4 separate regions of the Homo sapiens genome follow, and regions 1, 2 and 4 are each linked to region 3. Evidence: promoter capture Hi-C in 16 types of primary human blood cells and fetal thymus (Javierre and others, 2016). All regions are on one chromosome and are shown on one strand. Each heading gives the region's core, a stretch centred on a gene start or on the middle of the fragment in contact. The rest is flanking DNA. Distances are from core to core; before and after follow the strand shown.

The links. Contacts are between HindIII fragments. The CHiCAGO score rates a contact against its expected background, and 5 or more counts as called.
Region 1: a fragment that was not itself captured here is called in contact with the fragment with the promoter of ELAC2 in region 3 in 1 of 17 cell types (endothelial precursors); the score reaches 9.6 in endothelial precursors.
Region 2: a fragment that was not itself captured here is called in contact with the fragment with the promoter of ELAC2 in region 3 in 1 of 17 cell types (M2 macrophages); the score reaches 5.5 in M2 macrophages.
Region 4: a fragment that was not itself captured here is called in contact with the fragment with the promoter of ELAC2 in region 3 in 1 of 17 cell types (M2 macrophages); the score reaches 5.2 in M2 macrophages.

Annotation. Positions count from the first base shown.
Region 1 is chr17:12,164,689-12,170,545 of GRCh38, reverse strand. No RefSeq gene overlaps it. Among named protein-coding and RNA genes, the nearest start is that of MIR744, 86 kb to the right of the region's middle. The HindIII fragment of the contact is 954 bases long and covers 3,664-4,617 here.
Region 2 is chr17:12,131,637-12,137,022 of GRCh38, reverse strand. All of the region lies in intron 9 of MAP2K4 (mitogen-activated protein kinase kinase 4), which reads right to left. Among named protein-coding and RNA genes, the nearest start is that of MIR744, 52 kb to the right of the region's middle. The HindIII fragment of the contact is 1,152 bases long and covers 3,025-4,176 here.
Region 3 is chr17:13,013,599-13,019,734 of GRCh38, reverse strand. It overlaps ELAC2 (elaC ribonuclease Z 2), which reads left to right and starts at 1,708. Exons shown (of 24, transcript NM_018127.7): 1 at 1,708-2,032; 2 at 2,614-2,664; 3 at 2,803-2,873; 4 at 3,903-3,967; 5 at 5,239-5,296. The coding sequence starts at 1,788. RefSeq lists a silencer at 1,591-1,670 and enhancers at 2,191-2,250, 2,271-2,380, 1,892-2,392. The HindIII fragment of the contact is 8,738 bases long and covers 1-5,135 here.
Region 4 is chr17:12,070,375-12,076,409 of GRCh38, reverse strand. All of the region lies in intron 2 of MAP2K4 (mitogen-activated protein kinase kinase 4), which reads right to left. Among named protein-coding and RNA genes, the nearest start is that of MIR744, 8.5 kb to the left of the region's middle. The HindIII fragment of the contact is 742 bases long and covers 3,556-4,297 here.

The DNA.
Region 1 (5,857 bases), core at 2,891-5,390, 850 kb after region 3:
GACAACATGGATGAACCTCAAGTACATAAGGCTACGTGAAACATGGCAGGCACAGAAAGACAAATACTGCATGATCTCACTTATATAAGGAATCTAAAAAAAATTAATTCATAGAAGTGGAGTGGAAAATGTTTAGCAGAGGTCAGGGGAGATGCGAGGAAATGGGGAGTTATTGGTTAAAGTGTACAACATTTTAGTTAGGAGGAGTAAAAATTACTTTTTTAATAAAACAGCCTCTAGAAATGTTCTGACAGCAAAGAGTAAATGAAGAATCATCTATTCAAGAAAACCTGCAAAACTTCTGTAAGAAAGAAGACAGTCTGTTATTCAACAATTAAATATACATTTATCTCAAATGCACATAAAATATTATCTAGGGTAGACCATATACAAAGCCATAAAACATTTTAATACATGTGAAAGGACAGAAATAACACAAGGAATATTCTTTGAATACAAAGGAAATAAATTATAAATTGATAACATAAAAAAATTGAGAAACTTACAAATATGTGAAAATAAGATAACATACTCTTAAATAACCAATAGGTCAAAGAAGAAATAAAAATAGAAATCATAAAATACATTGAGATGATAAAAATGAAGACACAATTTATGGGATACAGCCAAAGCAATACACAGAGAAAAGTTTATAGCTGTAAATACCTATATGAAGATCTCAAATCAATAACCTAATCTTATACATTAAGACCCTAGGAGATGAGCAAACTGAACCTAAAGCAAGTGAAGGTATGAACATAATTAAGATCAGGGCAAGAATAAATGAAATAGAGAACAGACAAACAATGGAGATAAATCAATAAAACAAAAAACTTGTTCTAGGAAAACATCAATAAAATTAACACACTTGGCTAAACTGACCCTAATAAAAATACAGAAGACTGATTTCTAGAATCAGGAATGAAAGAGGATATAGGACTATAAACTTACAACAATAAAAAGTATTAGAAAGGAATTCTAATTAATGATTATATGCCCAAAAAAAGAAATAAACAAATCCCAGGAAGGCACAAAATACCAAAATTAATTTAAGAAGAAATAAACAATCTGAATAGACCCATAACACCTAGAAAGGCTGAGTTAGTAGTTTTAAAATTACTCACAAAGAAAATATCAGGCCCAGAGGGCTTCACCTATAAATTCTACCAAATATTTAAATAAGAATTAATACCAATTCTTTATTTCACAAACTCTTCTGAAAATTGAAGAGGAGAAAACACTTCCCAAATTATTTTAGAATAAAATGACAAAACCAGACAGAGACGTCACAAGAAAATAAAACTATTTATCTCTTAAGAATACGTACACAAAAATTTTTGACAAAATGCTAACAAATCAAATACAGCAACATATAAGAATTACACACCATGACTAACTAGGATTTATCCCAGGAATGTAAGTTATTTCAGTATCTGAAAATCAGTTAATGTCATACATATCAATAGAATAAAGATCACACAATCATGCCAATGGATGCCCAAAGAGCATTTGACAAAATCCAGCATGCCTTTATGGTATTAAAAAAAAAACAAACATGACTGGGCACGGAGGCGCACACCTGTAATCCCAGTACTTTGGGAGGCCGAGGCAGGCGGATCACCTGAGGTCAGGAGTTTGAGACCAGCCTGACCAACATGGAGAAACCCCATCTCTACTAAAACATTTACCAGAGATTTTATCCAGAGAAACTTGGCAAGAAAAATATATAAAAGGCATCTGAATAGGAAAGGAAGGCCAGATGCAATGGCTCATGCCTGTAATTTCAGCACTTTGGAAGGCCAAGGCGGGCAGATCACTTGAGGTTGGGAGTTTGAGAACAGCCTGGCTGATATGGTGAAACCCCATCTCTACCAAAAAATACAAAAATTAGCTGGGCGTGGTGGCGTGCACCTTGAGTCCCAGCTACTCAGGAGGCTGAGGTGGGAGAATCACTTGAACCTAGGAGACAGAGGTTGCAGTGAGCCAAGATGGTACCAATGCACTCTAGTCAGGGTGACTATGTCTAGCTAGACTTTGTCTCAAAAAAAACAAAAACAAAACAAAACAAAACCCAGATAGGAAGGGAAGAAGTAAACTATCTTGTATATAGAAAATATGAATTAATCTACTTTTTGAAAAAAGAATTAGAATTAATAAATGAACTCAGCAAGGTTGCAAGATACAGTATCTATATAAAAATCAATTGTATTTCTATACATTTGCAGTGAACATCTGAAAATGAAATTAAGAAAACAATTCTGGGGCAGGCACAGTGGCTCACACCTGTAATCCCAGCTCTCTGGGAGGCCGAGGATGGAGAATCACTTGAGGCCAGGAGTTCAAGACCAGCCTGAGCAACATGGCAAAATCCTGTCTCTACAAAAAATAAAAAAAAATTAGTCAGGTGTAGTGGTGCATGCCTATAGTCCCAGCTACTCAGGAGGCTGAGACAGGAGGATCTCTTGAGCCCAGGGAAGAGAAGGCTGCAGTGAGCTGATTGTGCTACTGCACTCCAGCCTGGGTGACAGAGTGATACTGTGAGGAAGGAAGGAAGGGAGGAAGGGAGGAAGGAAGGCAGGAAGGCAGGAAGGCAGGAAGGCAGGAAGGAAGGAAGGCAGGAAGGCAGGAAGGAAGGAAGGAAGGAAGGACCTAATAATTCTGTTCATAATAGCATCAAAAAATAAAATAAGGCCAGATGTGGTGGCTCATGCCTGTAATCCCAGCACTTTGGGAGATCGAGGTAGGAGGATCATTTGAGGCCAGGAGTTCGAGACCAGCCTGGCCAACATGGTGAAACCCCATCTCTACCAAAAATACAAAAAAATAGCTGGGCATGGTGATGCATGACTGTAATCCCAGCTACTTGGGAGGCTGAGGCACAAGAATTGCTTGAACCTAGGAGGTAGAAGTTGCAGTGAGCCAAGATCATGCCACTGCATTCCAGCCTGGTTGAGAGAACAAGTCTCTGTCTCAATAAAATAAAATGAAATAATAAAATAAAAAAGTAAAATAAACAATAAATAAAATAAAATCTTTAGGAATACATTTATCCAAAAAAGTGCACATCTTATACCCTAAAAACTATAAAATATTGTTGAAAGAAATTAAAGAAGACCTAAATAAATGGAAAAACATCCCATATTTATGGATTGGAAGACTTAACATTGTTAAAATGATAAACTGATTCCCAAACTGATCTAAAGAATGAACACACTCCCTCTAAGAATCTCAGCTGACTTCTTTGTATAAATTGAAAATTTTATCCTAAAATCTGTATAAAATTGCAAGTGATCTAGCATAGCCAAAGGATATGATGTGTGTCCCATCCAAATACGTTGAAATGAGATCTCCAGTGTTGGAGGTGGGGCCTAGTGGGAGGTGTTAGATCATGGGGCAGATCCCTCATGAATGGCCTAGCACTATCCCCTTTGTGATAAATGTGCTCTTGCTCTGAGTTCACATGAGATCTGGTTGTTTAAGAGTCTGGGACCTCTCCGACTCTCTCTCTCTCTCTTGCTCCTGCTCTTGCCATGTGACATGCTGGCTCTCCATCACCTTCCACCAGGATTCTTAGCTTCCTGAGGCCTCACCAGAAGCTGATGAGCCTCACCAGATGCTGATATACTTCATCTACAGCCTACAAAACTGTGAGCAAATTAAGCTTTTCTTTATAAGTTTTATAAAGTTTTATAAAGAAGTTTTATTAACTTTTTCTTTATAAATTACTCAGCTTCAGGTATTTATTTATAGAAACACAAGAATGAATTAATACAGATAATTGGTACCAAGGTGTGGGGCATTGCTACAAAGATACCTGAAAATGTGGAAGTGGCTTTGCAACTTGGTAATAGGCAGAGGTGGAAGAGTTTGGAGAAGATGATAGAAAGATGAGGGAAAGTTTGCAATTTCTTAGAGACTGATTAAATTATTGTGATTAAAATGCTGAAAAAATATGGACAGTGATGTCCAGGCTGATGAGATGGAAATGAGGAAATAACTCCAGTTATTGGAGTTATGCCCTATCAACTGGAGTTACCCATGTTATGCCCTAGCAAAGAACTCAGCTGCATTGTGTGCATGTTTTAGAGATCTGTGGAAATTTGAAATTAAGAGTGACGAAATTTCATAGAAGAAATTTCTAAGCAACAAAGTGTTCAAGAAGTGGTATGGCTGTTTCTAACAACCTATTATCAGATGTGGGAGCAAAGGAATGACTTAAAGTTGCAACTTATATTTAAAAGGGAAGCAGTGTCAACATTTAGAAATTTTGCAGCCTGGCCTTATGGTAGAGAAAGAATCCAAGCAGGCTGTGGAACAACCAGTTGCTAGAGAGATTAGCATGACTAAAAGGGAGCAAACTGCTAATATCCAAGACAATGGGAAAATAGTCTCAAAGGCATTTCAGAGATCTTCAAGGCAGCCCCTCCCATCACAAGCCCAAAGGCCTAGTAGGAAAAAATGGTTTCAAGGTTCAGGACTGGGACTCTGCTGCTCTACACTACCTCAAGAGGCTGCACCCCATAACCCTGCTGCTACAGCTCCAGCTGTGGCTCAAAGGACTTCAGGTATACCTTGGGCTCCCACTTCAGAGCATGCAAGCCATAAGCCTTGGAAGCTTCCATGTGGTGTTAAGCCTGTAGAAATACAGAATGCAAGAATGAAGGAAATCTTGGTTTGGCATCTGCCAGCTAGATCTCAGAGGATGTATGGAAAAGCCTGGGTGCCCAGGCAGAAGCCTGCTACAGGGTTGGAGCCCCCATAGAGAAACTCCAGGGCAATGCTGAGGGGAAATGTGGGGTTGGAGCACCCTACACAGAGTCCATACTAGTGGAGCTGTGGGAAGGGTCCACCACCCTCTAGACCCCAGAATGGTAGGTCCACTTGCAGCTTGCACCCTGAGCCCAGAAAAGCTGCAGGCACTCAACTCTAACCCACGAGAGCAGTCACATGGGCTGTGCCCAGGAAAGGCACAGGGATGAAGCTACCCAAGGCCTTGGGAGCCCATCCCTTGCACCAGGATGCAAGATACAGAGTTAAGAATTATGCTGGAGCTTTAAGATTTAATGCCTGCCCTGCTGGGTTTCAGACTTGCATGGGGCCTTGTACCCTCTTCTTTTTGCCAATTTCTCCCTTTTGGAATGGGAATGTTTACTCAATGCCTGTACACCACTATTGCATCTTGGAAGTAAATAATTTGGTTTTGACTTTGCAGGCTCATGGATGGAAGAAACTTGACTTCAGTTTCAGATGAGACTTTGGACTTTGAACTTTTGAGTGAGTTGATGCTAGAATGCTTTAAGATTTTGAAGAACTTTGGGGAAGGAATGATTGTATTTTCCAATGTGAAAAGGATGTGAGATTTAGGGGGAGCAGGGGAAAAATATATGGTTTGGATGTGTGCCTCCTCCAAACTTCATGTTAAAATGTGATCTCTAATATTGGAGGTGGGGCCTAGTGGGTGGTATTGGATCATGGGGGTGGATCCCTCATGAATGGCATGGCACCATCCTCTTTGTGATAAATGGGCTCTTACTCTGAGTTCACATGACATCTGGCTATTTTTAAAAGTCTGGGACCTTCCCCCTTTGTCTCTTGCTCTCCCTTTGCCATGGAACATGCTGGCTCCCTGCTCCCTGTCACCTTCTGCCAAGATTATAAGTTTCTTAAAGCCTCACCAGAAGCAGATGCTGGCACTATGCTTCCTTTATGTTCAGCCTGCAGAACCTTGAGCCAATTAAACCTCTTTTCTTTATAAATTACCCAGCCTCAAGTATCTCTTTATAGCAACATAAGATGGACCAATACACTAAATAATCCTGAAAAAGAACAAAGGGGGATGACTCATACTTCCCAATTT
Region 2 (5,386 bases), core at 2,351-4,850, 880 kb after region 3:
TTCCAGTCCTCTGGTTGCAAAACCAGTATCTAAAGCCTTGTCATTGTGTAGTACCATAGCTTGCTTAAAGCTGTGGCCCAGGAAGTAACTGATATCATTTTTTTCATTCTCCAGAATGAAAAATGACCTGGAATACAGCAAGTCCATGGCATCAGATCTACACAGCATTCTGTCAGTATTTTTGTTGCATTTTTTCACCCACACAGAGGTTTGCTTTCTTTGTAAAGCTGCCATACCTTTCTGGTTTTGTGTTTTTCTATTTCATCTACTGGAGCAGAAAATTATGTCAGTGTATAAACTTATGATGCTATTTGGGTTGAAATCTTAAACTATTAACATTGACTGTCTTCTTTTTCTGAATTACAGCTGACACTAATAATGTTATCAATAATTATATTAGCTCCCCTTAGACTATCTAATAAGGTAGCCGTTAGCAAACTTAATTCCAATAAAAAATGCATTTCCTTAGTTACATTAGCCACATTTCAAATGCCAGCAGCTACCACACTAGACAGAGCAGATTATAGGACATTTCCAGCATCTCAAAAAGTTTTATTGGGAGAGCTTCAGCTCTGTCTTCTAGTTCATTAATCTCTCTTCAATGATATCTAATCTGTTGAATGCAGCTATTGTTTTAATTTATGCTTTTTATTTCTAGAAGTTCTATTTGGTTCTTTATAAATGTGTTCCCTGCTTATATTTCTAAGCTGCCTCTTTTTCTTTAAACTTATTTTTTGTTTCCTTTCATTCCAATATTTGAAGCCTTTGCAGATCTATTCCTACTATCCATTGTTTCTGATTCTCATTTCTTTTGTGAGTGTTGAGATTTTTTTGTGGACTACATATTCCACTTGACTTTATTTTTTGGAATCATTTAGTCCTAGGCTGAATGATTTGCTTTTGCTTCTGCCCATCAACTGGGGGCAAGAGGAGCATATCTTTCCAACCAGGGACTCTGAAAAGTAATTTTTCTTAAAATTAAATTCTCTAAGTATTTTTACCATATTCAATATGAATTTAGATGGCAAATCTACATTTGCTTGGGTTATCCTTTAATTTACTTTGACTCTTCCTTCTCTCCCATAATCTCCCTCCCTGAATTTCAGTCAACTTCAGAGCTCCATGGATTCCTCAGTTTTGCACCAACTCTTTTACATTTTAAGAGGGACTTTAGGTGGGGCACGATGGTTCACCCCTGTAATGCCAGAACTTTGGGAGGCTGAGGCAGGCGGATCACCTGAGGTCAGGAGTTCGAGACTAGCCTGGCCAACGTGGCAAAACCCTGTCTGTACTAAAAATACAAAAATTAGCTGGGAGTGGTGGTGCGTGCCTGTAGTCCCAGCTACTCAGGAGGCTGAGACAGGAGAATCACTTGAACCTGGGAGGTGGAGGCTGCAGTGAGCCAAGATCATGCCACTGCACTCCAGCCTGTGCGACAGAGCCAGACTCTGTCCTAAATAAATAAATGGCACTTTAAAATGCTTATCCAGGCCAGGTACAGTGGCTCACGCCACTGTAATCCCAATACTCCGGGAAGCCGAGGCAGGAGGATCGCTTAAGCCTAGGAGTTTAAGACCAACCAGGGTAATACAGTGAAATCCAGTCTCTACAAAAATTTTTTTAAGAAATTAGCCAGGTGGGCCAGGCGCAGTGGCTCGCGCCTGTAATCCCAACACTTTGGGAGGCCGAGGCAGGCGGATCACCTGAGGTCAAGAGCTGACCAACCTGACCAACATGGAGAAACCCCAACTCTACTAAAAATACAAAATTAGCCAGGTGTGGTGGTGCATGCCTGTAATCCAGCTACTCTGGAGGCTGAGGCAGGAGAATCACTTGAAACCGGGAGGTTGAGGCTGCGGTGAGCCGAGATCATGCCATTGCACTCCAGCCTGGGCAACAAGAGCAAAAGTCCGTCTCAAAACAAAAAAGCAAAAAACAACAAAAAAACAAAAATTAGCCAGGTGTAGTGGCACATTCCTGTAGTCCCAGCTACTCGGGGGGCTGAGATGGGAGGATCGCTTGAGCCTGGGAAGTTGAGGTTGCAGTAAGCTGCAATCATGCCACTGCACTCCAGTCTGGGTGACAGAGTGAGTGAGACCCTATCTCAAAATAAATAAAATAAAAAGCTTATCCAGCATTTTAGTAGTTTCAGTGCAAGTGTTGTCCAAGATATCTAATGCACCAAAGTAATGTGAAGTAACCACATTCCTCCTGTTATAGCTGTTTCTCTGCTCTTCAGGTATTGCTGACTTGGTGTTTTGTGTACATTTGTGTGCATGTGTTTTAATTGAAAACTTGTCAAGTCTTATCTTTTCTCAGAACACATCTAGATGTGGCTTCCCTCTACTCTCTTGTTTAATTTGGTCTGGTATTTTAATCTAAGAACTTGAGTTATTCTTCAAGTAGAAGGAATTTTAATTTTAATTCTTTGTCTACAATCAGCTAAATAGAATATTTTGGATTTTTCTTCTCTCTTACCATTTACCTCATGTTCATCTTTTTAGCCCTTTATTCTTAAAGATTAACTAAACGGTGTTACTTACAGATCTGGTTAACCTGCAATACTCAATCTGCTGTGTGCCACCATTTTCCCCCATTCAGTTCAGGAATCATGTTTACTATCTGAAGATAACGTTTCTGGAATTCAAATTATTCCCTCCTTACAATTTTTTACCTTGTTTTTTTTTCTGTGACATTTTAAAGGAAATATTTGTTTAGATTTCTTAGGTACAATTCTCCGAATCACTGAAAGTTTTCATCTGTTAGTGATTTTTCTTTATCACAGTTAATCTCAGCTATGGATTCAGGTTAACTGTGAGAAACAGGTGGAGAGCCATCATTGCAGTATCATCACCTAGGTGGAGAGCCATCATTGCAGTATCATCACCTAGGTGGAGAGCCATCACTGCAGCATCATCACCTACTATAGGGATTTAATTTTTGCATTTGCTCTAACAGCATGCACTGTGCTCCCGCCCTCTAACCAACACAGGCGTTGTTGTTAGAAGTTATTTCAGCAAAGCTTGAGCTTTTCTTTACAGGTCTTGCTGCTAAGAGAAAGGCAGGAGTAGATACTACTACACTGTCCCAGCTGCCTGTGAGATCTAGCACAGAAGGCATTTCCTCAAGACATTTCAGGATCGAGCTTTACTGCCTAATTAGTTGCACAATTAGGCAGTCCCACAAGTTGCCTCTTCTTCCAGGTCTGCTGCCCAAGCTACAGAGTTGTATATGGGTCTTATATCGTCCTAGTGACTTTTTATATTCCCCTCTGCACACGATAAATTTTGGATTAGGCAATCCATCCCTGAATTCAGTCTTATCCCCATCCAGAGTTTCACAAAAATTCCTCAAGAATAACATTTTTTGTTTTTTCTTCCCCCAGGACAAATAAAGAATTTTTCCCCTAAAAAAAATTCCAATGGTGATTTCAATAGATAGTTAAATTGGGAAACAGTTTAAAATATGGGCTGAGATCTGAGGAGAGCAAAATCACTTGGTGACCACTGAACAGGCCCTAGAGACAAAAATTCCTTATCTGAGGAATGCAGAAGGAGCAAAAACCACCCGATGACTATCCAACAGGCAATCTAGAAGCAAAATTCCTTATCTGGGGAAAATCAGAAGTAATTAAACTTCCCAGCCTGGCGCAGTGGCTCACGCCTGTAATCCCAGCACTCTGGGAGGCTGAAGCGGGCGGATTACTTGAGGTCAGCAGTTCAAGACCAGCCTGGCCAGTGTGGTGAAACCCCATCTCTATTAAACATACATAAATTAGCCAGGCATGGTGGCATGAGCCTGTAGTCCCAGCTACTTAGGAGGCTGAGGCAGGAGAATCGCTTGAACCTGTGAGGCAGAGGTTGCAGTGAGCTGAGATCGCGCCACTACACTCCAGCCTGGGCGACAGAGCAAGGCTCCATATTAAAAACAACAACAACAACAACAACAACAAAACCCAAGAAGTAATCAGACTTCCCTATTATCTAAAGCAGGCATTGGTTCCAGATTTTTTCCCCAAAAAAACTTTGTAAGTAACTAGAATTTCTATACATCTCCAGAATGCCATGTCGAAATTCACTGTGCAACACTTGCTGACATTAAGGAACCAAAATTACTACAAATGTAATCATTTATTGTTACCTACATGGCTAATATGGTCCAAATTATCCTCAAGCTTTAAGGTCCATAAATACCCCTAAGGAAAAATCCACTGTGGCACGCTCAGCACCCTTCTGCACTCTTCTGCAGCATACTTTCTTTCTAATAAACTTTCCTTTTTCAAACCTATACTGTTGTCTGTAAATTCTTTTTATCAACCCACGAGTCGACCATTTCCCAATGCTGAGCGCTCAGACACCTCAGTCGGCAAGGTCTTCCTTTTGAACCATTAAGTCTTATCCTTTTTTTTTTTTCCTTAGGAAAACTTTTAATCGAAGCAGACATACAGAAAACACAACTCCTAAGTGCAGAACTAAAAAGTAACAATATTCTGACTTCCAATACCTTATATTGTTTGCTTTTAACTTTCATATAGAAATAGAACCATACATACTGCTTTCTGTCTTCTTTCACTCAACATCATTCGTGAGATTTACTGAAGTTGCTGAGTGAAGCAATGGTTCTATCTTCTCTGATGCTATATACTGCTGTATACATAATGCTACAATTTATTATCTGTTCTACTGTGGAGAGAGTTTCTAATTGTAGGTTATAAATGTGCTTTTCCGGACATTCTTACATATGTCTTTTAGTGTATTTATGTCCACACTTTTGTTGGGTATATAGTCAGAACTTGAATTGCTGAACCATGGTGTATACATCAACCATATTAGATCAGCTATACTGGATACTGCTTGTTTTTCAAAGGAACTGTACTAATTTATACTCCTACAAGTTATGTATGAGACTTCCAGTTGCTTCAGATCCTCACCAATATTTGGTACTGTCAGTATTTTAAACTGTGGTCATTCTGGTAATTATAGTGGTATTTCACTGTAGTTCTGACCTGCATGTCTCCTGATTACTAATAATGCAGAATGAATGCAGTAAATTGAATATGTTTACTGGCCTCTTGAATATCATCTTTAAAGTGCCTTTCAAGTATTTTGCTATTTTTGGTTGTTATTTTTCATAAGTGTTTTACATTTTTAAGTATTCTTTACATATTCTGTGTAAAAGTCCTTCGTCGAATATAAGTATGAAAAATATCTCCTTCTACTGTGTGGCTTGGCATGTCATTCAGTGCTGTCTTTTAATCAATGGAAGTTCTTAATTTTAATGAAATCCATTTTTTTTTAATCAATCTTTCTCTTAGGTTTGGCTACTTTCTACGTTCTGTTTCAGAAATCTTTACCCAAACGTAATGAAAACATTCTCCCATATTATC
Region 3 (6,136 bases), core at 459-2,958:
GTGCTGGGATTACAGGCATAAGCCACCATGCCTGGCCACAGAGCAGGTTTTGAACTACTAGCCTGAAGCTATTCTCCCGCCTTGGCCTCCCAAAGTGCTGGGATTACAGATATGTGCCACGGTGCCCAGGCTTTAAGCAACTTTTAAAAACTATCATTTTTATTTCAAATACTTATGGAGATGGTGGTATGATAATCTTTTCAGTTTGTAACGCCCTCTAACTGTGTAAAGTAGATCTGAAGTGTTTTCCTGACCCTCACTGGGATGGTTATTTCAAGTACAAAACGTTTTCACACCGTGGGTGATAATCTTCCATAAAAAATTTCATATTTGAATGAAAACAGCTCAAGAAATACACTAATGAGCAAAAATATATGGGGAAAGAGGAACGTGTAGTTTTGACTTAACTGAAGAAACCAAGAGGAAACTGGTCTCCATATGAAAATGTGATCCTGGAAAGTCAGGTGTCAAGATTTTCGAGTAGGAATCTACATGACTTGAATCTCCCTTACTTCCTGAATAAAAGTGACATCTTTCAGTATTTATTTAAAAAAATCATATGTCAGTGGAGCTTCCAGGTAAATTATCTTTAAAAAATCATATTTGAGTGGAGCTTCCAGGTAAATTATCTTCCTCTTTTAAGGGAGCTCCCTGTATTTCTAGCGGCTTTAACTGATATCCCTTTCAGTGAGAAATCCTCATTAGCTACATAAGAGGGGACTGGGTGTTTTTTTCAAAAAGCTGGTATTGGGACATCTACCTCTGTGATGTCCCTGGTCAGCTATATTGTCTAGGAGTTGAAACATTTTGTATTAATTTTCTATCATTTACTGGGTGCCTCTTCTGTGACAGTGCCACTCAAAGGTCTATTGATATATTATCAGGTGACTGAATTCTATATTCTGAAGTAGGAGATACTGTTATTGCTGTTATTACATTTTACACATAAGAAAGCTGAGGCTCTGAGAGGTCAAGATCACGCAGCTAACAAATGAGCCAAGACTCTTGCTTTAGAGCTTGTCCTCTATTCTTGCTTTTCTTTCCAAAAAACACTACAATTTTTGTTTTGTTTTGTTTTGTTTTGAGACAGGGTCTCGAGGTGTCACCCAGGCTGGAGTGCAGTGGCGCGATTTCGACTCACCGCAACCTCCGCCTCCGCGCTTAAGCGATTCTCCTGCCTCAGCCTCCCAAGTAGCTGGGACTACAAGCTCGGGACACCACGTAAAAATGATCAAGTTCTAACATGTATGCATACGAATTACAATGGAAATAAAATTAGCAAAGCGCTTATGCTAATGCTCAATACAATTGATTTCCTCACATTTAATCCTCACAACCACTACAACCACCTCTAACTCAAGCTCTGAGGGACTGACGTGCCCGGAGGACACAGCTCTTATCTGGTGAGAACAGGAGCGTTTTAGCGAAACTCCAAACTCCTAGGTCCCGCCTTCCCCAGGAAGGCTTTTCCTGGCACTGTGCTTCCGGAAGTCCCGCCCCAGGAGAAAAACAGCTTCCGGAAAAAATTGCGGCCGGCAAACCGGAACAGAACTAGGGGCGGGGCCGCTTGAGACGCTCTAGTATTCCTCTACTCTATGGCCACTGTCAATTGACAAGTCCCGAGCGGTAAAGCTCCTTTCTATTGGATGAGCAGCCTCGCGTAGGCGGGAAGCTCGGTGCACGGCGCGCTGATTGGCTGGATCCGCCATGCGGAGCGGCTAGGTGGTGCACGGGAAACGCGGGCGTAGGTGACCGGCGGCTTTCTCAGTTTTGGTGGAGACGGGCGCATGTGGGCGCTTTGCTCGCTGCTGCGGTCCGCGGCCGGACGCACCATGTCGCAGGGACGCACCATATCGCAGGCACCCGCCCGCCGCGAGCGGCCGCGCAAGGACCCGCTGCGGCACCTGCGCACGCGAGAGAAGCGCGGACCGTCGGGGTGCTCCGGCGGCCCAAACACCGTGTACCTGCAGGTGGTGGCAGCGGGTAGCCGGGACTCGGGCGCCGCGCTCTACGTCTTCTCCGAGTTCAACCGGTCAGTCAACGAGCCACGCCCCGTCCCGCTGGGCCCTCAGTGCGGCGCAGCCTCTGAGCATCGGGGCACCTCCCAGGGCTTCGGCTTCCCTGCTTCACACATGTGGTTCACTGTTGCGGGGGTTCGTGGAGTTATGGTGGGTGGGAAATCCGAGATTCTTTGCATCCATGTGATTTCTGCGGATCTGTGAAGAACTTCAGGCCTGGGTCTGAGCGTCCTTTTCCCAACCCTTGGGCCCCGGCCTGGCTGTCAGCACTTTCGGAGCTCCACCCTCTTCCGTGCACCCCAAGGCCAGTGTGTCGTTGTTAGCGTGTGGGGTGGACAGATCTGGTGTGTAGCCGGTGGTGGAGAAAGGACTCATTTTGTCCTAGCACCCACACACACAGGCCCCCACTCCTCTCCACCTCTGCTAAGGAGGGCTCAAAACCCACCAGCATAAATGTGGCTCGGTAGTCCAACGTGGACTTTTAATTTTTTTTTCTTTTTTTTTTTTCCAGAGTCTACAATAAAACATCTAATTGGTGTCAGAGAGTTTACAGAATAAAACCTTCTGAATGTCTTGTGTAATGTTTGTCTTGTAGGTATCTCTTCAACTGTGGAGAAGGCGTTCAGAGACTCATGCAGGAGCACAAGTGAGTCAGTCTCTTGCTTTCGGAGGGGGAGTTGATTACGGGGCTTGAAAGCCGAAATGAGAGGCCAGTTGTTTTTTATAGCAAAAGTGGTCCTTGTTCTGTTCATGTTATCCTGTTTAAATGTTTTTTCATTCTTAGGTTAAAGGTTGCTCGCCTGGACAACATATTCCTGACACGAATGCACTGGTCTAATGTTGGGGGCTTAAGTGGTGAGTATATTCTTTGCAGTGTCAGAGGCTGGTGGGAAGTCTCTGGGATTTTAACCGGCTTTACCATTTTTCCAAGTCTGGGGTGGGCAGCTACTTTTTTTTTTTTTTTTTTTTTTGTCAGTGGCGTGATCTTGGCTCACTGCAACCTTTGCCTTCTGGGCTCAGGTGATCCCCTCACCTCAGCCTCCCAAATAGCTGGGACCACACGTGTGCCCCATCACACCTGGCTAATTTTTTTTGTATGTTTTGTAGCGACGGGGTTTTGCTATGTTGCCCAGGCTGGTCTCAAACTTCTGCGATCCTCCTGTCTCGGCCTCCCAGAGTGCTGGGATTACAGGCATGAGCCACCGCACCTGGCCTGGAATTCTTTTTATACCAGCCCAGTCAGCAGCAGCACAGAGCATTAAAAGCTGTGACTCAGGAGAACAGATTTTAATATGGATACCACCTCTTAAGTGTTACCATCCACTTAGTTTCTTGCGTTGCGGGGACAGAGATTTGTGGCAGTAAACTGGAGAGTCTAGCAGTGGTGATTACAGTTAATATGTTTACCGCAGACGCCATTGGCACATTGGCAGCCACACACATACCCACTGTCCAGATTACCCTGTCATTTATGTCTATCAACCGGAAGGTCAGGATTGTGTTGCAGCCAAATTGTGTGGGCTTGGTGGCATGGACCGGAAGGAGTGAAGTGTTAGACCAGTCTCCCTTCTCAGGGCTGAGACTAGGGTGAGGCACTTAGGGTGCCAGCCCTTCACTTGCATGATTCCTTACATTTTGCACACTGGGTGCCTTGCTGCTTCACCCTAGTGACAGCTCAGCCCATTCTAGAGGCATTTAAAGAATATTTGGTGTCTGTTACACCTCTAGCTGGCATCACTTCTGCTCTGTACATCTTCCCTGGTTGTACTTCCAAAGCTGGAAGGTGGAGATGTAGATAAATAGTTGGATTAGTACGGGGTGCTCCTCCTGTTAGTGACGACAGGTCAAATTGATGAGAGATCTGATTTTATGCATCCTTTTTAGGAATGATTCTTACTTTAAAGGAAACCGGGCTTCCAAAGTGTGTACTTTCTGGACCTCCACAACTGGTGAGTCTTTCCTGACACATCTTTCAAAAGCAATCTTTCCTTTTGTAATATCAGTAACAAGAATTTTCCTTTTTGCAAATCAGTCTTCTGCCCTCCAGAGATACCTGGTCGTTGAAACGCTTCCCCTTTCAAGTTAAAAAGACTTGAGTTCTGATTAACTATGTGACCTTGATCAAGTTACTTTACCTTTCTGAGCTTTAGTTTATTCATCTATAAGATGACTATCACGTTTCATAGAGTTGTTAAAGATTAAATGACGTAGCAGCACATATAAAGCACTAAATCACTTTATTAGATATATGTTTGGCACCAAGTAGGCACACAAGAAAGGGCAGCTTTTGTTTTTATTCAATAAATTTCTGACATCTTCTTACCTTTCAGTCCAGCTTATTACACTCTTGAGAAGGCGTGTGTGTGTTGTTGAATATAACAGTTCATTTTCCAGTCCTTAAGAAGAAAGTCACCAAGACCTGTTAAGTCTTTCCCCAAAATAACGTTTGAAATCCATCCATTTGTCTCTTATTGAGGCCTTCCTTATTTCTGTTTTCTATGCCTGTAAACTACAATAGCCTCCCATATTCATTCTCGCCTTCCTGTAATCCATCTGCCACACAGCAGCCAGAGAGGTCACTTCAAGACAGAAAAGTAGTGTGTCACTTGCCACCCTAAAGCCCTTCATGGGCTCCCCATTGCAATACAATCAAAACACCTTGATATGGCCTACAAGTCCTGTAGGCCCCGGCCGCTACCCACACTTCCATCTGTACCCATCGCTGAACTGCAGCTGCATGGGCTGACTCTTATGTCCCTCTAACTCCCTGGCCACTTCAGGACTTTCGCCCTTCCGCGGGTTCCCTCTGCCTCTTCTAATTGCTGCCTATATTGTTACTGAACCTTCAGGGCTCAGCTAGAGGGTCATTTACTCCAGAACTGCCTCTTCTTCTCTAGACAAGTTGGATCCCAGCCTTCTGTATTTTTCATTTTCCTTGCAGAGCACTTAGCATAATGCCACTAAGCTGTTTCTGTTATCGTGTTTCCTTTTGTCTCCTCCACTGGCCTGATTAGAGCAAGGCCTCCATCTCTTTTTCCTGCTATATCCTTGGCATCTGATATAATGGATACTCAGTAAATATTTGTAATAAATGATGTTCAAAATATTTACTAAGCTTTGTTTTATGTTGATACCTATTGGTAACCTTTTAAATACTTGAATAGTTGCTGTGTTCTACATTTGTTCAACCATAACTGCTCATTTCTTTGTTTTTCATTAGGAAAAATACCTCGAAGCAATCAAAATATTTTCTGGTCCATTGAAAGGAATAGAACTGGGTACGTCTTTGTCTGTGACTCATCCTCTGCTATTTCTAACTTATATATGCCCTGACCTCTCAAATTAGAATCCATTAAAAACATCAACATCAAACCTCAAAATCAAATGCTTCATCACCACGAGATTTTTTTTTTTTTTTTTTTTTTTGGATAGAGTCTTGCTTTCTTACCAGGCTGGAGTGCAGTGGCATGATCTCGGCTCACTGCAACCTCCACCTCCTGGGTTCAAGCCATTCTCCCACCTCAGCCTCCTGAGTAGCTAGGACTACAGGCGCATGCCATCACGCTCAGCTAATTTTTTGTATTTTTAGTAGAGACGGGGTTTCACCATGTTGGCCAGGATAGTCTCGATCTCTTGACCTTGTGATCTGCCCGCCTCAGCCTCCCAAAATGAGCTACCATGTGGCTGGAGATGGGATTTCTAAATAGTGACATTTTCTGTGTTCCCACCTCATGCTGTAAAAATAGGGGCCAGGTCGGCAGGAGTGATTGAACAGCTGATGCCTGCCTGTGTACATGCTGTGTGGCATTCTCCATCCAGACGGCAGGGCTCCTGCCTCAGTTCCAGAGGTGCTTCTCGTCGTTGAGTTGCTTTGAGTTGGGGGCGGGGGTGACAAGGGTTCCCTAGAGGTTTTGTGGCCAACTTTGTACATTGAAACGCAGCTCCAGCTGCGCAGGGGGGCTTACAGCCTCTTGATGGGAAGAGGCCTCACTGAGGATGCTAGTAGGGCTCTTGTCCTGGCACTGGTGTGTATCTGTGGCTTGTTAATACTCCTCTTTTATAGAAACACTAATACTTTGTTTCAAAATATACATCAGCTCTTCTGGTTTGCGATGATA
Region 4 (6,035 bases), core at 2,677-5,176, 950 kb after region 3:
AACACTACTGTATTTTAGTTGTTGTCCCTTCATTGACCCAGACTAATCTACTAGTCTGAAATTTCTGAAATCCTACAGACTAAACACACACACACACACACACACACACACACACACACACACACACACAGAACTGTGACATAATGTCCCAGAACATTAATCAGACTGGACACTGAGAAAAGCTGTATTTCTATACAATGTCTAATAAAGCTGCCTGGAACTTCATATATAGGCAGGTGGCCTTGTTTTGTAAAGAAACACAGTGGCCAGTCAAGTAGGGTTATTAGAACAGCTCTAGCCACATCCTCCACCTTCACTCCCACCCTCTATTAGATGCAGTGTGTTTGCTGTGCAAATTCAGCAGCAGTACCAGTACTTGAACCTCTTTTTCCAACCAGACACCGAATCTAAAATCCCTCCTAAAGCTACAAAGGTAGAAGATAAAAAGGAAAATGGAAAAATCAATCATAATCCAGAAAAAAACCACTATTAACAATTTAGTACATATTATTTTGTATCTTTGTATACTATGGGAATAGGTTGCAAAAACAGCATATTATACCTACTGCTTATAGATTTCACTTAATATATTTTAACACAGTCATTAAATAATTGGTTATCACTACTGGAATGGCTGTGTACCAAGTCTGCACTGATTTAGGAGTACTATCAGCCAAAAGGTGCCCACTGTACCTAGTCAACAGCACCTTTTTCCTCATGCCAATTTGAAAGGTGTTAGGGTTAGATCATTCTTTTCAACTGCTAGAGTTGAACATTCTTAAGCTATCTGGTGAACAAATATGTCTTTTTTGTATTATTATTAACTGCCTGAGATAGCGCCCCTGAGCCTTCCTGGCCCAGGTGTTTGTTTTGTTATCGCTGCTTCTACTAACAAGTTCCTTACCTATTAACACCATCAACCCTTGTCCTGCATTGCAAATATTTTCCCAGTTTGTTGTTTACCTTCCCTTGTGTTTATGAATTTACATTTTTAAAAAATTCAGTAATTTGTATGCTTTCAAATCAATGACTGCCCTCAAATTCTTTTCTTTTGCTGTCATGCAGTATCATTTATATTCACAATTGCATCAAAAGGGATTTCACTCTACCACTGCTTTTCAGGTCCCTAGTTATGTCTTTTCCTCATCTGCCCCCTTTCTATAATCTTGTTGCGTATCCATCCAGTCTGTTCTCTCCTCGAGATTTTTCCAATCCATTTTTATAAACGCCATGACTTCTTTCACTGTATTAACAATGTCAGTCACTATTGTAAGAAACTATTTTGAATCCTGCAAGATATCTTGTTTGGAGATGCTCTTTCTCAAAGTCTTCAAGATATTATTCCCTAGTTCCACAATTCCTGTTTCCATCTCACAGTGAGTGTCAATGTGGCACCTCCACTTGTCCTACTATGAAGTATCAGGAGACAGACTTACCCTCATACCTAAAACAACTGAAAAAAACAGACAGAATATATAGGCAATCTGGAAGACACTGGAAATCATCAGGAAACAAAGGGCAGCAGACACTGAAAGACCGGAAATATGTAAGGTGAGCCCTACAAGTGTCCCCAGCTTACTGCTGAAGAGTTCACCAACTGTGATACAGGGAGCGGGGATCCAGGAAGATCCTGGCAGTACCCTTGAGTTGCGGACAAGGATCTGGGAATCTAGGGAGACCAAGGTAGCCAAAGTTCACATGGCAGAGTACAGGATAAGAGACAGCTACACAGAAAGAGAACCCCACCGATATGCAGAGGGCCCTCCTTGATCAGCGGATGATTGTGAGGAACCTATACAAGCCTGAAGAATAAGCCACCTAAAAGGATTAAGAAGGCATGATACCCAGGCTCATACAAGGCAGCTCCTATTCTTAGCCACTGGAGTGGAAAGCTTCCTGATTGGAAACCAATAAAGTAGTTAGAAGGATTTTACCTTACTAGTAAGGCAAAATTAGCTCTAGAGTAGTCTCATCTGCGAAAGCTAAAAAGCAAGACCTGAAAGGATCAAACTATCTCCAAGTAACTTAACCAAAGAACAAAACTCAAAAACATTCATGAAAATACAAAAACAGCCATCACACAATAATCTCTGGGATGCAATCTAAAATTACCACAGTATACAAAAAAGCAGAAAAACATGACCCATAGTGAAGAGAAAAACATCAATCAATTGCAACTGACCAGAAATGACAAAAATACTAGAATAAAGACAATGAAACATTTACCACGTTCCATATATTAAAAAAACGAAAGGATGGATAGAGTATGTTAAATATAGACGTGGAAGACAGAAAAAATAACCAAATCAAATGTCTAAACACAAAAACTACAACAAGAGGCCAGGCACAGTGGCTCACACCTGTAGTCCCCGCACTTTGGGAGGCCGAGGTGGGCGAATCACGAGGTCGGGAGTTTGAGCTCAGCTTGGCCAACATGGTGAACCCCCGTCTCTACTAAAAATACAAAAATTAGCTGGGCGTGGTGGTGGGCACCTGTAATCCCAGCTACTTGGGAGGCTGAGGCAGTAGAATCTCTTCAACCCGGGAGGCAGAGGTTCCCAGTGAGCCGAGATCACGCCACTGCACTCCAGCCCAGGCAACAGTACGAGACTCCGTCTCAGAAAAAAAAAAAAAAAAAATCTACAACGAGAAGGAAGAAATTCTGGGAATGACGGATATGTTAACTTGACTATGGTGATGGCATCACAGATGTACACATATGTCAAAACCTAGCAAATTATACGCTTTAAATATGTACAGTTTATTCTATGCCAATTATACCTCAATAAAACTGCTGAGAGAAGGAGAGAAAGAAAAAGAAGATTATCCTTGGGCTGCACTCTACTTGTCTGATACGGATTTGCCCATTACATGCCTATGGTTCAAAGGCAGATTTGAGATATCTAAGGCTTAGTATATTACAAATCAGAGCACTCACTGCTCCCATGGTAAATTCTCCTCTCTCCAATTTTCTTGGTCTCTAATACTGTATTCTGGACTGATAACAGCAATATAAAAATACAATCCTAAGTCTATACTGGGCAGCACTATACTGTTACTACAATCCTTCTCTACTTCCACCTAGTACACTTCACTCATAATGACACTTCCCAGATAAAATTCATCAGCATCCTCCCTCTTCCCATCTCTCCCCAGTTTTTTTCTGGTAGTTACCAGTGTGGGCAGGAGAAGAAATGAACATGAAAAGGGATGAAGTCTCTGCTATAAAAGAATCCCTGGGTAAAAATTTTCCTTATTCTGGCTGTGTTACTATTAGTATCCATTATCAGATCCTATAGGGAGTTAAGTCATCTTAATTTTCAGTGTTTCATATTTTCATCTTTGTTTCTTAATAAATATTTTAGCAGGACACTGCTACTCATATATCATTTTGTACTACAAACCTCAGATTGCTTTTACAAAGTCAGAAATTTAGTTCTTAAAGCAAATTAAAAACCAAGAGTCTCAACTACTTTTCATTTGTGATCTGTTAGCTAATTCTTAATACTATGTGAGTTGTGTTTTGAACACCTACTTATTAAACACCCTCAAGCTTACTTTTATTATTTTTGAGACACTTATTTAAACATGTCGATGAGAAAAGGAAAACAATTTTATAGAAATAAATTTTATGTATAGACACATTTAGGAACATGTGTATTTTACATAACACAAAGACCTGAAATCTAGGGTATTCATGAGTACCTTATACTGCTTAAATTTTAGCCTGTACATGTGAACTATGATCAACCAGCTCAATTTAATCCCAATCTATGCTTTATACCTGATTTTATTCTAGTTCCTTATGATATTCTTATCATATACTCATGACACTAACAGAAAAATTAAAAGTTAAAAGTCTAATTGTAGTTGGATTCAAGGGAATTTGTATCTTTCTATGAAGGTATTTAGGCATACAATTCAAATGTTTTGTTAAAGGAAGAAAATAAGAAAACTTTCATTCCCATGGCTTCCTATTTGATATTCAGAATATACATGGTCACAGACTAACAGAATTTGATTAGAAAGAAAACGCAGACTTCACTCTTGTCCTTCTAAGAAACTTCCTGAAAATACTGTATTGGGCTTCATGTTCCTCCTCTGTGCCCATAAATGTTGAAATCAAGATACACCTAGTCTGTTCCAAACTCCTGATCTACAGTCCTAGTAACACTTTCAAAAAAGTATATTAGGCTAGTTTGGAACTGCTTACTTACTCTTAGTGAACCCTAATTTGGATTAACCATTTCTATTTAATTCTTCTATGATCATCTCCATGAAGTCTGTATCAGAAGCTTCATTTCAAAGTGCGCAGGTGAGAATATAGGCAATATAAGGTGGCTTTTCTCTGCAGCTCCAGCGTCTACATTGGAATCCCTTGCCTACTATTTGATTCTTCACCATGTGAATTCATCACTTTTTAAACATTTCAGAATATACCCAAATACAGTAAATGAGACTTCCAGGGAATGCAAATAGATACCTACCACTGTTATTATGGTTTACAAATATGCCCATATGAGAAGAGGAAAATGTCACAGACCTTCTCTCCTGCCCAGGCCAATAGTTTGTATACTCCCACAATGACAAAAAGGCTCTCAACAAAAGCCAAATCTCAGGTTCACTGGTCTATACATTGGTGTGTACCTTCTACACTGCCACTCCTCTACTTGCTTATTAAGTCTACTTCTTTTGAATCATATATATATATTTCCCAGTGCCGTAATTTAGCGATGAGCCATTCCTCAAAACTGTGATTTTTGTTTTTGTGCCAACCATTTTTCATTAAAATTTCAAATTCATTTTGTTGTTTTTTTGGAGGTGGGAGTTAGGGTGAGAAAAATATGAAGAGACAAGAAGAGAACGATATGAAGCATCAGGCACTGGTCTTCATCCGTCTCCAGTGAATATTTTAGTACTCTTTCTCCTATGAATTTTCTAGTACTCCCTTTACTCTACTGCTTATGTTTGTGTCACAAAGGCTATCTTCTATGATTCAACTATGCCTCTATCACCTTGCCTTTGAAATGTGAGTTTAATATCTTCTCCAGCAGGTCAAAGGAAACACTAAGAACTGGCTATCCTTAATATACAATGTGATTTAAGAAGCCAAAACCCAGTTCTTCAATACCATCTGTAGTAGGGTGAACTATACACCACCCACCACACAAAAAAAAGATAGGTCCATCCAGAATCTCAGAAAGTAACCTATCTTTACGGATAAAATTAAAGATCTCAAAAAAGAGATTCTGGATTAGGTGGGCACTAAATAAAATAACTATCCTTATAGGAGACCAAACAAAGAAAAGGAGAAGATAGAGATGCACAAGACAGACACAGGGAAGAAGACCATAGAGATTACGGTTATGCTGCCACAAGCCAAGGAAGAGCAGCAGTACCAGAAGCTGAAAGAAAGGGGGGATCCTCCCCCAGAACCTTCGGGAGAAGCATGGCCCTGCCAACACCTTCAGATTTCTGGCCTCTAGAACTGTGAGAGAATAAATTTCTGTTGTTTTAAGCCACCAAGTTTGTGGTAATCTCACAGAAGCCTTGAAAAATCCAGTACACCATCTAAATCATGAGTCACAACCTTTTTCTGTAAAGAACCAGATAGCAAATATTTTAGGCTTTGCAAGCCACTAGTCTCCTGCAACTATGCAGCCAGATGGGTGTGGCTATGTTCCAATAAAACTTTACTTACAAAAACAAGCAAACAGGATGGATTCAGCTCATGAGCTGTAGTTTGCTGACTACATGATATAAATGATACCAAATGGTATCTAGCAACCTAAATTGCATCTATCATGCAAATAATCTAAATCATATTTTCTATATCCTTTTTCTCTTTTACATTTATAATTATGCTCTATATGATAAGCACCTTCAATTATCTGCCCAAATCCTATAGTTCTGTTTCCAGAATTTAATCTCAAGATACATTTCAGAATTTTTCTTGAAAATGGCCCACCAATCAACAGAGAGTGGAATTAGGGGCAGAAACCCTTCTAGGATTCTCTCATCACTTAGGTAAGTAC